Linked DNA regions of Homo sapiens: all the other regions are linked to region 2. Evidence: promoter capture Hi-C in 16 types of primary human blood cells and fetal thymus (Javierre and others, 2016). All regions are on one chromosome and are shown on one strand. Each heading gives the region's core, a stretch centred on a gene start or on the middle of the fragment in contact. The rest is flanking DNA. Distances are from core to core; before and after follow the strand shown. Region 1 overlaps GOLGA3 (golgin A3). Region 2 holds the start of SLC15A4 (solute carrier family 15 member 4). Region 3 holds the start of DHX37 (DEAH-box helicase 37). Region 4 holds the start of TRA-TGC3-2 (tRNA-Ala (anticodon TGC) 3-2). Region 5 has its middle 1.9 kb from the start of TRD-GTC2-10.

Region 1 (2,767 bases), core at 251-2,750, 3.9 Mb before region 2:
CCTAAAAGAGGAAGTTGGAATTTTTTTTTTTTTTTTTTGAGACAGAGTCTCGCTCTGTCGCCCAGGCTGGAGTGCAGTGGCGTGATCTCTGCTCACTGCAAGCTCCGCCATCTGGGTTCAAGCGATTCTCCTGCCTCATTCTCCCCAGTAGCTGGGATTACAGGTGCCCGCCACCACACCAGCCTAATTTTTGTATTTTTAGAGGGGTGGAGTTCCACCATGTTGGCCAGGCTGGTCTTGAACTCTTGACCTCAGGTGATCCTGAGCCTCAGCCTCCCAAAGTGCTGGAATTATAGGCGTGAACCACCGCCCCCGGCTGCAGTTGGATTTTTAAATTGCTTTTTTTTATTGTTGAGGTTTTTTTATCTCCAAGGGACTCTCCCGGCACTTCTACCTTCCAGAGTTACTTCAGTGCATAAAGTTTGAATTATTTTGTTCTTGTGGGCAGAAGTGGGAATGATGGAATATCCTCACGGAAAAGGCAGTGAAGTTGGGAGTACTGCTTACAAAACAGGGTCACCAGTGCATTATGTGGCGTGTTCATCCCCACGCCGTGTGTCACGGGCTAGGGCGGCGTGTTCATCCCCACACCGTGTGTCACAACAGGCTAGGGCACTTCACGATGTCACTACTTGTTTTTCTGATGTTCCAAAAACAACGTAACTTGGTTTTCATGTGTTTTTCCGTGGTATATGTGAGATTGATGCTACGGGTCTTACGGACTCACACCCGTTCCCACTCTCTGCAATATGGATCAGGCAGTGTTTCTGATAGGATGTGAAATGGACTCTCCTCGGGTGGGTCCAGCAGGGGCCCTGCCCACCAGAACACAGTCCGTGCTGTGCTGCGCTAAGGAGCTGGCCCTCAACTCTCCTTGGTGCAGGGTTCCCACAACCGAGTTCTAGTTCCCTGAGGTCTTTAAAAACAAAAACAGAATGTTGTACGTGAAGATTCTAGGAGGGGAGGGACCAGCAAATCTGAGAGAACCGTCCTGGGGCCTCCCTTCGAGGAGCCCTCTGATGTGAGGAGGGACTTGAGTTGAGTGACGCTGTGGTGTGAGGTGTTCTGAGCTCACTGACCGGAAGGTCCAGGTGAATCTCGTCATAAGTGATCTCAGGCTCTCACAGGATCCGGAGGGAAATGTGTTAGAGGGTCTGGAAAATTCAGTGCTTTTGAGTTACTTGTTTTTATTAAAAATTTCCTCACAAAAGAGAGTCCTCAAGTTGTGGCTGTTCTTGGGAAAGGGGTCACCGTGTCTGACAAAGTGTAACTTTAAAAAGCACGTTGATTTTTTACAAATGTAAGTGTGCTTGGGAATTCCTTAAATTTTGTGCAATAAACTATTTTTTGGTAAAGATTTTCATATTCATTGGAAGCTTCATTTTAATAGTTATATTTTGTCGTTTGGCAGTAACTTTTTAATCTCATGTTATTACACACTCTGTTCAACACGTGCTTTAAAAGAGAATTCTACTGTCCTGCCGGTTTCTGGCAGGAGTGAAGCAAACTTCTGTGGCTTGTGACCACGGCAGACGCGCGGCACCGCCTCCTCCGTCCTTGGCCCACGCTTCGCTTTGCCCGTTGTCATTTGCCAGGAATACAGAAGGAGGGGGAGCAAGCTTCCCGGTGAACCGGGGAAGGATGGTGACCGCTCTGTGCTGCGCCTCCTGAACTGGGTCTCATCATCCAGGTGCTGCCCTCTGCTGGGCCTCCCCGGTGACAGTGGAGTCATGACTCTCAGACCTCAGCAATGTGACTTCCCAGATTCTCGTCTTTTTCATCCATACTTTGATTTTGGTCATTAAGAGTTAACCAGGCGTAAGCTGGGTGTGGTGGCTCACGCCTGTAATCCCAGCACTTTGGGAGGCTGGGAGGGGGTGGTCACCTGAGGTCAGGGGTTCAAGACCAGCCCGGCCAACATGGTGAAACTCCACCTCTACTAAACAAAAAATTAGCCAGGGCGTGGTGGCGGGCGCCTGTAATCCCCACTTGTCAGGAGGCTGAGGCAGAAGAATCGCTTGATCGGGCAGAGGTTGCAGTGAGCCGAGATCACACCACTGCACTCCAGCCTGGGTGACAGAGCATGACTCCGTCTAAAAAAAAAAAGAGTTAACCAGGTACAGAGTTTTCAGTTAGACGTTATTAGAGGCCACCATGGTTTAAAAAGTACAGAAAAGGGGCAGGAAGTGGTGGTCGCTGGGCTTGGCCCTGTGGGATTAATGCACTTCTTCCTGTGAGCGTTACCAGCTTCTGTACCCAGAGAATTGCTACACAGAGTAAAAATTCCCTGACCACCTTCTGTGGCCTTAACTTTCTGAAATATTAAGGATATAATTTTTTTTGGTCTATAGAACCCTTAAGGGGACATGTATGTATCTGAACTTTTTCCTTTTCTCCATGGAGTTGCTACGTGTTTGCAGGCACTGCACTGACAGGTATATTTTAAGCTGTGTCTGTCTCAGCAGCTCGAAGCTCCACGCTGCGTCCTGCTACAGAGCTCAGCAGTGGGTGTCAGGAGTGGTTTTGGCAGAGATGAATGGGTCACTTCTTCCTGGCTTAGAGTGGCGGCAGGTACTGTCAGGAATTTGGGTTGAGTGTAGGACAGAGGACGTATCGCTGATGGGAGGCTCAGGATTTTTTTTTTTTTTTTTTTTTGGAGACGGAGTCTCACTCTGTGGCCCAGGCTGGTGTGCGGCGGCGCGATCTCGGCTCACTGCAAGCTACGCCTCCCAGGTTCACGCCATTCTCCTGCCTCAGCCTCCTGAGT
Region 2 (2,700 bases), core at 189-2,688:
GCCTGCCACCACGCCCAGCTAATTTTTGTATTTTTAGTAGAGACGGGGTTTCACCATGTTGGCCAGGATGGTATCGATCTCTTGACCTCGTGATCCGTCCGCCTCGGCCTCCCAAAGTGCTGGGATTGTAGACGTGAGCCACCATCCCAGGCCGGGGTCTCAATTTCTGAAGCCATGCTGAGGGCCATTTTTGGGCGGCACTCTTTCACTCCACTATGTGCCAGGCGCTGTCCCAGAGGCAGGGGGCACAGTGAGGAACAAAACACAAGAGAATCCTGCCATCAGGAAGCTTACACCTGTTAACACATGCAGGTTGGGGAGATAAACGAATAAATTAAAAAATGTAACAGGTAATAAGGAGAAAAGAGTAACATGATGGAATGGGATACTCGGGCCTTGGACAGGCTAGTGAAAAAAATGTTTCTCTGAAGTCAACACTTCGGTGGAAGGTTGAAGGATGAGAAGCCAGCCATGCAACCATAGATGGTGTAGGGGCAGTCTCTGGGAAAGCCTGAAACAGGCTGGAGCTTGCCTTGTTCTAAGCCAGTGAGTCTCAATGGGGGCGTATTTGCCCCCAGGAGTCCTTCGGCAAAGTCTAGAAGACATTTTCGGTTGTTAACCTGAGGTGCTAGGGGGTGGAACTGGCCCCTAGTGGATAGCAGAGGCCAAAGCTGCTGCTGAACATCGTGCAACGCACAGGACAGTCCCGTCGCTCAAAGTGCCAACGATGCACGGGTTGAGAAACCGGGTCCTCTCCAGGACTGAAGCCCAGGGCAGGGAGCACGGGGGCAGCCTGAGCAAACCCGCCTGGAGAGCAGCCGCCGTCTCAGTGTGAGTTTTGGCTGCCTACTGGGCCCCACCGAAGCCCGAAGAGGGCCAGGCTCCGGCTTCTTTGTTTAAACTCCCTTAGTCCGACTGCCTGCAGTGGCTCATGCACGTAATTCCAACACTATGGGAGGCTGAGACGTGAGGAACGCTTGATGCCAGGAGTTCGAGACCAACCTGAGCAACAAAGCGAGACCCCATTTCAAAAAACTGTTTAAAAATTAGCCACAGGCAGCGGCGAGCGCCTGCGGTCCCAGCTACCCGGGAGGCTGAGGTGGGAGGGCCGCTTGATCCTGGGAAGCTGAGGCTGCAGTGAGGCGTAACCGCATGACTGCGCTCCAGCCTGGGCGAGAGAGGGAAACCCTGTCTCAAAAAGGCAAACAAAGGCTCTCGGCCGCCAAGCTGCGGAATCCCAAGCTCCCCAAGACACGCAGTGATCCAGAATACCGGCCACCTCCTCGCCTAGTGCCCGGGGCGGGGCCGGAAGTTCCGGCGAGTGGGGCGTTGAGCAGCGGCGAGCCCGCCCAATAGGGACATCTCAGGCCCGGCAGTCTCGCGAGAAGGGCGGCGGCCCTGGGTTCTGGGACAGGTGACCCGGCGGCGGGGCGAGGCAGCTGGCGGCGTCGCATGGAGGGCTCTGGGGGCGGTGCGGGCGAGCGGGCGCCGCTGCTGGGCGCGCGGCGGGCGGCGGCGGCCGCGGCGGCGGCTGGGGCGTTCGCGGGCCGGCGCGCGGCGTGCGGGGCCGTGCTGCTGACGGAGCTGCTGGAGCGCGCCGCTTTCTACGGCATCACGTCCAACCTGGTGCTATTCCTGAACGGGGCGCCGTTCTGCTGGGAGGGCGCGCAGGCCAGCGAGGCGCTGCTGCTCTTCATGGGCCTCACCTACCTGGGCTCGCCGTTCGGAGGCTGGCTGGCCGACGCGCGGCTGGGCCGGGCGCGCGCCATCCTGCTGAGCCTGGCGCTCTACCTGCTGGGCATGCTGGCCTTCCCGCTGCTGGCCGCGCCCGCCACGCGAGCCGCGCTCTGCGGTTCCGCGCGCCTGCTCAACTGCACGGCGCCTGGTCCCGACGCCGCCGCCCGCTGCTGCTCACCGGCCACCTTCGCGGGGCTGGTGCTGGTGGGCCTGGGCGTGGCCACCGTCAAGGCCAACATCACGCCCTTCGGCGCCGACCAGGTGAGCCGCGCCCCCGCGCGCTGTCCCTGTCCCTGTCCAGCCCCTGCCCAGCCCCAGCCTCTTCCCCTGCCCCAGTCCCTGCCTCTGACCGCGGAGGGAGCCCCTTGCCCCGGGGGGCTTCTGTCTAGTGCCGAGGAATCCCGCCAGCAGGTGGGCCAAGACTGGAGGTACCGGTGTGATGGGTGCTGGAAGGGGTTTGCCTGGGGCGGGGTGAGGTCTACACACACAGTGATGGCCACAGTGGCTTTAAAGAAAAGAGAGGCCGGGCGCGGTGGCTCACGCCTGTAATTCCAGCACTTTGGGAGGCCGAGGCGGGAGGATCTCTTGAGCCCAGGACTTTGAGACCAGGTTGGGCAACACAGTGAGACCTCATCTCTACCAAAATTTAAAAATTTGCCCTCCGTGGAGGCGCACACCTGTAGTCCTAGCAGAGAAAGGAGGATTCCTTGAGCCTACGAGTTTCGGAGGCTGCAGTGAGCTAGGGTCACACCAGTGCACTCTAGCTTGGGTAACAGAGTGAGACCCCACCTCAAAAAAATAAATAAATAAAATTTAAAAAATACGCTGAGCGCAGTGGCTCACGCCTGTAATCCCAACACTTTGGGAGGCCGAGGTGGGTGGATCACCTAAGGTCAGGAGTTCGAGACCAGCCTGACCAGCCTGGCTAAAAATACAAAAATTAGCCGAGCGTGGTGGCGGGCA
Region 3 (2,708 bases), core at 50-2,549, 3.8 Mb after region 2:
CAGAATTTTGAGACCAGTCTAAGCAACATAGGGAGACACCATCTCTACAAAAAAATAGAAAAATTAGCCCGTCGTGGTGGTGTGTGCCTGTAGTCATAACTACTCAGGAGGCTGAGGTGGGAGGACAGGTCAAGGCTGCAGCGAGTGGTGATTGCACCACTGCACTCTGGCCTGGCCCACAGGGCGAGATCTCATCTCTTAAAAAAAAAAAAAAAAAAGTCGGGCGCGGTGGCTCATGCCTGTAATCCCAGCACTTTGGGAGGCCCAGGCAGGCAGATCACGAGGTCAGGAGTTTGAGACCAGCCTGGCCAACATGGTGAAACTCCGTCTCTACTAAAATACAAAAACTAGCTGGGGGTGGTGGCGGGCACCTGTAGTCCCAGCTACTCGGAAGGCTGAGGCAGGAGAATCGTTTAAACCCGGGAGGCAGAGGTTGCAGTGAGCCGAGATTGCTCCACTACACTCCAGCCTGGGCAACAAAGCCAGACCTTGTCTCAATAATAATAATAATGCATTGTTTCCCAGTGTGTTACAATGTGATGCGGTAATGGGAATTTAAAGTTATGTAATAGACAACTTTATTTTTTTTTTTTTGAGACAGAGTCTAGCTCTGTTGCCCAGGCTGAAGTGCAGTGGTGCAGTCTCGGCTCACTGCAACGTCCACCTCCCGGGTTCAATCAATTCTCTGCCTCAGCCTCCCAAGTAGCTGGGATTACAGACGCCTGCCACCAGGCCTAGCTAAATTTTTTTTGTATTTTTGGTAGAGACGGGGGTTTCACCATCTTGGCCAGGCTGGTCTTGAAATCCTGACCTCGTGATCCGCCCGCCTCGGCCTCCAAAAGTGCTGGGATTACAGGCGTGAGCCACCGCGCCCGTAGAGGCCTCCTTTTAGATCTTCCATCTATCCCTGTGATGGAAATATTTGGTGCCTTTTTAAAAGTACACGACTAATACGTTTCTTGTAGGAATATCAGAAAATACAGATGCGCAAACCAGGGTTGGGGGGAAGAAGTTTGGAGTACTGGGGGCGGGGTATATTTTAAAAGGTGGCAAAACACTTCCACTCCCAAGAAGCCAAATTAGTATCAGTAGATATAATTCATATTTAAACCCAGACTACCCCAAGCGAGAACAGCCCAGGACTTAAACTCCGGCCTCCGCTGGGACCTCAGGCCCCGCCTACTTCTCTAAATAGTCCCGCCCCCTGCCCGGCCCGGCTCCGCCTCTCCTCTTCGCTGGGTTTCTCTTGCAACCCCGCCCCTCAGCGGCAAAGTCAGTTACAGTTCTCGCGATAACACAACCCGGAAGTCTCACGGCCGGAGTTGGTGGTCTGGGAACCCACGTGGGCTGGGTTTCGGATTGCTCTGCTGGTCCGGCCGCTGGAGCGCCCACCCTGGCCTAGTCGCCATGGGGAAGCTGCGCCGGCGCTACAACATCAAGGGGCGCCAGCAGGCGGGCCCCGGACCCTCGAAGGGCCCCCCCGAGCCGCCCCCCGTGCAGCTGGAACTGGAGGGTAAGACATCCCCGGACCGGGGCTGGATTTCGGAGATTTCCCAGGGCGGCCTGTGCCCTGCCTTCAGGACTCTCGGGTGGGGATCCCAGAGGGGTGGGATGGATCATCTGGAATGGGGGAATGGGTCCCCCCATTCCAGATGATCCAAAGGAGAGGGGCTTAGTGACAGCCTAGTTTTAACAGTGTATATGGAATACCCGGGATTTCTCTCGCCCTCAAATAGTAACATGGAGAATTTGGCAAAAAAAACAGGAGTAGTTCCATCCCTTCCCATGACTTCGATTATAATCTCTTTATAATCTCCAGCGACCCCCAAATGTGTATTTTCAGCCCAGTCTTGTCTGCTCAGCTCCAGGCTGGCTGACATTTCTCTCAGACCCCTTTTTAGGAGTAGCCCTTATTACATGCCAGGCACTATTCTAGGCACTGGAGACATAGCAGAAAGGGAGATTTTTAGAAAATCCCTGAGTTTACCTGCTGTATAGGAGGAGACAGGCAAAGAATAAACATATAGAAATTTATGCGGCTATAGTGAGCAGATAAAACAGAAGAGGCCATTGGGTGGGTTGCAGCATCCCATAGAGTTGCTGGAGAAGACATCACTCTGTTAGAGTCAAGATCTGAAGGAGACCTGAGTGGCTGCCTGGAGATGAGAGAAAAAACAGGGGGCCAGGGCAGGTCGGGCCTGGACTGCAGTCTTGGCGAGGACTGGGGCTTTTTCTCTACGGGAGAGGGCAGCCATGGGAGCATTTAGAGCAGAGGAGGCGTGGTGGTGGGCACCTGTAGTCCCAGCTACTTGGGAGGCTGAGGCAGGAGAATGGCTTGAACCCAGGATACGGAGGTTGCAGTGAGCCAAGATCGCACCACTGTACTCTAGCCTGGGTGAGAGAGCGAGACTCCATCTCAAAAAAAAAAAAAAAAAAAAAAAAGTTCCACAGACAGGCTGGGAGTTGAGGCAGATCCCCTAACATCTCTGTGCCTTCGTTTTCACATCTGCAGAATGGGACCAGTAGCACACGTTGAGCAGCCTTAATCCAAAATACTCCAAAATTCAAAAGTTTTTGAGTGTCAACATGACACTTAAGGAAATGCTCATTGGAGCATTCCAGATTTCAAATTTTTAGATTAGGGATGCTCAACCAGTGAATAGAATACAGATGTTCCTAAAGCTAAAACAGGTCTGGTTCCTAGCATT
Region 4 (2,700 bases), core at 163-2,662, 3.9 Mb after region 2:
TCATGCCACTGCACTCCAGCCTGGGCGACAGAGCAAAACTCTGTCTCAAAACAAACCAACCAACCAAAAACTAAAAGCCTCTCGCACTCCCGTGTGTATTGCAGCTTTATTCATAAGTGCCTAGATGTGTCCGTCAACAGATACATGGATAGAGAAAATGTGTACATACGCAATAGAATACTATTCGACCTTAAAAAAATACAAAACAAAATGAAATCCTGTCATTTTTCCTCTACGAAACAAAAATAAAAACATGGCTAAGTTTGGGCGACATTACATAAAGTGAAATAAACCGGGCACAGAAAGATAAATACTGCATGATCTCACTCACGTGCGGAAGCTGAAATAGTTGGTCTCACAGAGAGAATAGTGGTTACTGCAGGTAGTGAAGGTGGGGGGAGGTGGGATAGCCAAAGGGGGGTTACTGGATACAAAAGTACAGCTGAATAGGAGGAATAAGTTCCAGTGTCCCTATAGAGTGAATACAACAACTTATTGTACGTTTTCAAATAGCTGGAAGCGTGGATTTTTAATGTCTCCCAGCACAGAGAAATGATACATGTTTGAAGGGATGGATGTGGTCATTGCCCTGATTTGAACATTACAAATTGTGTACATAGATCACAACATCACACCACACCTCATAAATGTGCACAATTGTTATGCGTCCAAACAATAATAAAAACCAAAAATAAAAATGAAACACGTGGAAACAGGAAAAACGCCTTTAAGAATAGAGTATAGCAAGGACTTCCAAAAGCAAGTACAGGAAAGGGAGGGGGATGTAGCTCAGTGGTAGAGCGCATGCTTTGCATGTATGAGGCCCCGGGTTCGATCCCCGGCATCTCCATTGTAGTTTTGTTGCTTTCTGTATTCGTTTTGGTCCGTGGTTCTTTATCATTAAAGTGCCATGGATGTGATTATCATAAGCATTGTGATTCCAGGCACTACTTGGAGCTCAGATTCTCACACCAGGTGTGATCTTCCCATTCTGAAATCTCTAATGTTTCAAATGCACATGAGTTAGAAGAGGCTGATGGGAGTAATCAGCAGAAAAGTGTTAAGGCAAAACCTGACTTGATGACTGAAACCACAGCAAAAGTGAGCAGGATGATCATTTGGGGAGTGTACACCACATCTCGTGCCACCATGATTGTACTGCACTGGCCTCGAGGGCTGTTGACGCATTCTTGGCCATCAGAGGGCAAGTGTGTAAGTTGCTGGAAGGTCTGGGCCCCCCTGTTTGCCATCTCACTCCTCCTCTGCACTGCCACGAACCACCTCATTTGCATGGGAGGAACCCAGAAGCAAACTCACATCCCAGCGGGGCTTTGCTCTCTGCTTCCTCAGCAACACGTCTCCACGGCTGTAATGCAAGTGCAATTTACATTTATATTCATACACTGTGTTCCGGGGTGAGCAGGCCTATGCAAACCTACCCCAAAGGCCAAGGGAGCTGAGAGGCCAAAGAAAGGGGTTGACAAACCCAGTTTCTCAGGAAAAAACATTTATTAGGGACTTACCAACAGAAGCCATAGTCTCAGGGTGGTCATCAGAGGATATAAGGTTTGCTGCGCCATAACCCCCGGCCCAGGGCTTCCATACCATAGGGAAGGAATATATGTAGGACAATTGAAGTTGACCCCTCAAGCAAGGCAAGAATGTTATGTGAATCCGCATAAGGGAAGGATTTATGATCTAGGTTGTTCTGATCTAAGGGCAGAATTTATGGTAACAGTAAAGTAGAAATCTTAGAGACCTTCCTGGAAGAGGCATTAATCGGAAGTTATCTTGGTGGATTAGCAACCAAGATGGAGTTGCTTTCACCTCCACTGTGTTTCTGTGTTTTATCACTGAAAGCAAAAGATGGTGGCTCAGGCCTGTAATCCCAGCACTTTGGGAGGCATGAGGCAGGAGAATTGCTTGAGGCCAGGAGTTTGAAAGCAGCCTGGGCAACAAAGGGAGACCTTGGCTCGGAAAGGAAAGGAAAGGAAAGGAAGGGGAAGGGGAGGGAAAGGGGAAGGGGAGGGGAGGGGAGATTGATTTACTTGCATGAATGATCTTTAGGCAAAAATAAATACATAAAAATAAATTATATTTTTTAAAGTTTAACCAGTTCCCAGCTCTCTAAATAATAATAAGAATGAAAGAAGGGATTCGGCTGCATTCTGTGGTACAGTTCTTTGCAATTATAATGAATTCCTCACCTGTCAGCCCCTTTCTTTCATTTGACTTGACTTCATGTTTTAAATGGTAAAAGCGTCTAATCCTAGATCTAGAGCTTTCATTTTTGAGATGAAGAAAATGAAACTTGCGAACTGACTCACCAGTTAGGTGGTGACGCATTGGTGACAGCTTGTTTCTAATGAGCTTCAGGAAAGGTTATTTCTCCCTAAATGTCAACAAGGTTTTAGGGGAAAATCATTGAAGATAATTTCTGAAGTCATCAGGCCTAACACAAAACTTACATGCTTCTGTAACTGCCCAACAGTTTCTCCTTGCCCGCTGCCTAGACAGAGCCCATTTATTAGGACAGGGAAACTGTGATCCGCCCACCTCAGCCTCCCGAAGTGCTGGGATTACAGGCGCAAGCCACCTCGCCCTGCCATAATAGAGAACGTTTAATTCACACACAGCTGGCAGTGTGGGAGACGGGAGTTTTACTATTACTCAAATCAGTCTCCCTGAAAACTCAGGGAT
Region 5 (2,700 bases), core at 167-2,666, 3.9 Mb after region 2:
GAAGGACTCGGGTGGTGGGTGGGAGGAGTGACTTTTTGACTTTCCATTTCTGTACCTTTCTGGACTTTTGGAATTCTATTTTTTTCTCCCTTCTTTTCTTTCCTTTCCTCTCTTATTCGATTTTTATCAAAATGATACGTCTAATTTTTAAAAGTCAGATACAACTGAAGAATATTTATTCCTTATGCATGAGGTCCCTATTGCTGTGTTTTGACTTCATTGGCTGCAGCCAGACCTCACAATTTAAACTAAAACCCGATTAGCTAACAGTTCAAAAATTTTTTAAATAGGTAAAAGCAGTGAGGAACATAGGAAAAAAGGATGTTCCTTACGAAAGGACTTAGAAAAGTAATAATATTCCTAAATAAGGAAGAGTGTAGGCTGCAAGCTGGGACATGCCTGGGCACGTCCAGCACGAATATTTTGACAAAGGTACAAGGACATAGAATGTACTACGTGCCTGTGAGCATGTTTAGCACAGATACCGAAGTCAGAGTGTGCTTATTCTGTTACATTTGCTACCTAAGGCTTAACAGAGAGTTATTACTATAAAATAAGAAATTTGAAGAAAGTTAGTTCTGAGAAAAGATATTAATAACATTTATGATTTAAAGGGGAAGCTTTGAAGAGGAACTTTTGCTTTCTACATTTCCTTCCCTTTTAATTTTTATAATTTTTCCTTTTTAAACTGTTTTAGCATGTTTTGGCTTAATTGTTCTACTTGAGCTTTTAAGAGGAGAAATCTCTTAGAATAAGGTGGAGGAGAGTTAAGATAGGTTTTAGTAGTTTTGGTAAGAACTGTCGTTATTAATTTTGTCATTAGCTTCCAGAGGCATGGTATAACATCCGAGAAGGAGAAGTGTACCTATTACGGTAGTAATAGAAGTGAGAATTGAGGTTATAGTTTCCTTCCGTTGACCAAACCATCGTCCTAGCCAATTTGAAATAGGGTTATTAATTCTAGAATTTCTAGTAAGCTCTTTAGATAAAGCAGTGAGACCTTGTAAGGTTCTGGTTATACTTCTGTTAGGAGTCGTGTTATTTGGGATGAAGGTTGTACACAACATTGGGTTTTAATTATAACACAAACACCACCTTTCTCGGCTAATACTACATTTAAAGCCATTTTATTTTCCTAAGCCATTTTAGTAGTGGATCCTAACTGTTCTGCTATTCCTTTAATAGCATCTTTAAGTATAGTTAATAAATTGTTGTTGATAGTAATAAATATTGTTTATCCAATTTACATTCTTATTAATTGTTATTTGTGGGAGAAGGGATTTGAACCTCACAGCTCTCTGATTTCTAGCTTTGAATTTATCTGATATACCTCGTGGAACGTCAGTTGTATCTAAATAAACATGGGGGTCAAAGGACCTACGAGAGGCTTCTCTTGTTTTACGATGTCATGTTTTTTTGTTTGTTTGTTTTTCTGGTTGATGAAATGCCAGGGTAAAAGGGATAGCTAACTGAACTAGAGCACAAGTACCGCTCCAATTATTTGGCAAAGTGTCCAGTAAAGGTTCTCCAAAATACCACCATACACCCACTCGGGGATGAATAAGGGCTGACTGATGGGTCAGCTCTTGGAAGTGCCTGACCTCACTGCATTCTGTTAAGTTTCTTTCTTTCTTTCTTTCTTTTTTTTTTTCCTCTTTTTGAGAGGGAGTCTAGCACTGTCGCCCAGTCTGGAGTGCAGTGGCGCGATCTCAGCTCACTACAAGCTCCACCTCCCAGGTTCACGCCATTCTCCTGGCTCAGCCTCCCTAGTAGCTGGGACTACAGGCGCCCGCCACCACGCCCGGCTAATTTTTTTGTATTTTTAGTAGAGCCGGGGTTTCACCGTGTTAGCCAGGATGGTCTCGATCTCGTGACCTCGTGATGCGCCTGCCTCGGCCTCCCAAAGTGCTGGGATTACAGGCGTGAGTCACCGCGCCCGGCCGTTTCCTTGACTTTTAAAAGAAAAATTAGGTTGGTGTCCTGGAACATGGACAATGGCTATTTCTTCCGGTAATTGAAGATTATTAAGAACATGAACAACTAGTGTTTCATGAGCAAGTTCCTTACCTTTACTGTTAAATAGTTCTCGCTCAGCCTAAATTTTTCCAAATGTATGAGATACTCTGAAAGCATATTTAGAGTCAGTATAGATAGTTCCTACCTGGTTCTGTAAATATTTTAGGGCCTAAGTGCGAATAACTTGCAAGCTTGAGCAGACCAATTATTTGGTAATCTTCCTGATTTTACTTTTTTTAAGGTCTCTTTATCAATTACAGCATATCCATTATGTTGTGTCCTTTCAATCATTTAGGAGGAGCCAGGGTGGTCTCAAACTCCTGAGCTCAAGCAATCCCCGCGCCTTAGCCTCCCAAAGTGTTACGATTACAGGTGTGAGCCACCTCACCCAGCCTAATATCTTTATTATAGAAATAATTTTTTAAATCACTAAGAAAAATTCAAAAATATCAATAGATCACAATCAACAGGCAATGAATTTACAGAAGAGGAAAAATGATTCATTAATAAAACTTACAGAAAAGCTTGGCTCTTAGAAGTATTTAAATAAATGGAAGTAAAACACAAGTTACTACTTTCAACCCATGATGTTGTGAAAGTTGTCAGAATCAAAATGAAGTCATGGATGTTAAGTAAGTAAATAAATAAATAAATAAACCCTGACAAATAGAACCAGGGAAGGCC

Evidence for each region. Contacts are between HindIII fragments. The CHiCAGO score rates a contact against its expected background, and 5 or more counts as called.
Region 1: a fragment that was not itself captured here is called in contact with the fragment with the promoter of SLC15A4 in region 2 in 1 of 17 cell types (neutrophils); the score reaches 5.7 in neutrophils.
Region 3: a contact is called between the fragment with the promoter of DHX37 here and the fragment with the promoter of SLC15A4 in region 2, in 1 of 17 cell types (naive CD8 T cells). The highest score is 8.2, in naive CD8 T cells.
Region 4: a contact is called between a fragment that was not itself captured here and the fragment with the promoter of SLC15A4 in region 2, in 1 of 17 cell types (neutrophils). The highest score is 14.9, in neutrophils.
Region 5: a contact is called between a fragment that was not itself captured here and the fragment with the promoter of SLC15A4 in region 2, in 1 of 17 cell types (neutrophils). The highest score is 6.6, in neutrophils.

The regions. Positions count from the first base shown.
Region 1 is chr12:132,767,504-132,770,270 of GRCh38, reverse strand. GOLGA3 (golgin A3) reads left to right here. Exons shown (of 24, transcript NM_001389683.1): 24 at 1-1,357. Among named protein-coding and RNA genes, the nearest start is that of ANKLE2, 7.1 kb to the right of the region's middle. RefSeq lists a cis regulatory region at 645 and enhancers at 561-730, 2,199-2,248, 2,359-2,408. The HindIII fragment of the contact is 243 bases long and covers 1,379-1,621 here.
Region 2 is chr12:128,822,696-128,825,395 of GRCh38, reverse strand. It overlaps SLC15A4 (solute carrier family 15 member 4), which reads left to right and starts at 1,438. Exons shown (of 8, transcript NM_145648.4): 1 at 1,438-1,998. The coding sequence starts at 1,453. LOC124903083 (a long non-coding RNA gene) reads right to left here and starts at 1,452. Exons shown (of 2, transcript XR_007063602.1): 1 at 1-1,452. RefSeq lists an enhancer at 1,528-1,687. The HindIII fragment of the contact is 5,029 bases long and covers 292-2,700 here.
Region 3 is chr12:124,987,722-124,990,429 of GRCh38, reverse strand. DHX37 (DEAH-box helicase 37) reads left to right here and starts at 1,299. Exons shown (of 27, transcript NM_032656.4): 1 at 1,299-1,513. The coding sequence starts at 1,408. RefSeq lists a silencer at 1,386-1,595. The HindIII fragment of the contact is 16,586 bases long and covers 1-2,708 here.
Region 4 is chr12:124,919,905-124,922,604 of GRCh38, reverse strand. TRA-TGC3-2 (tRNA-Ala (anticodon TGC) 3-2) reads left to right here and starts at 779; the gene lies at 779-850. RefSeq lists enhancers at 984-1,303, 870-1,548, 1,384-1,573 and a cis regulatory region at 1,158-1,328. The HindIII fragment of the contact is 6,001 bases long and covers 1-2,700 here.
Region 5 is chr12:124,936,438-124,939,137 of GRCh38, reverse strand. No RefSeq gene overlaps it. Among named protein-coding and RNA genes, the nearest start is that of TRD-GTC2-10, 1.9 kb to the left of the region's middle. RefSeq lists enhancers at 158-427, 1-1,115. The HindIII fragment of the contact is 1,587 bases long and covers 623-2,209 here.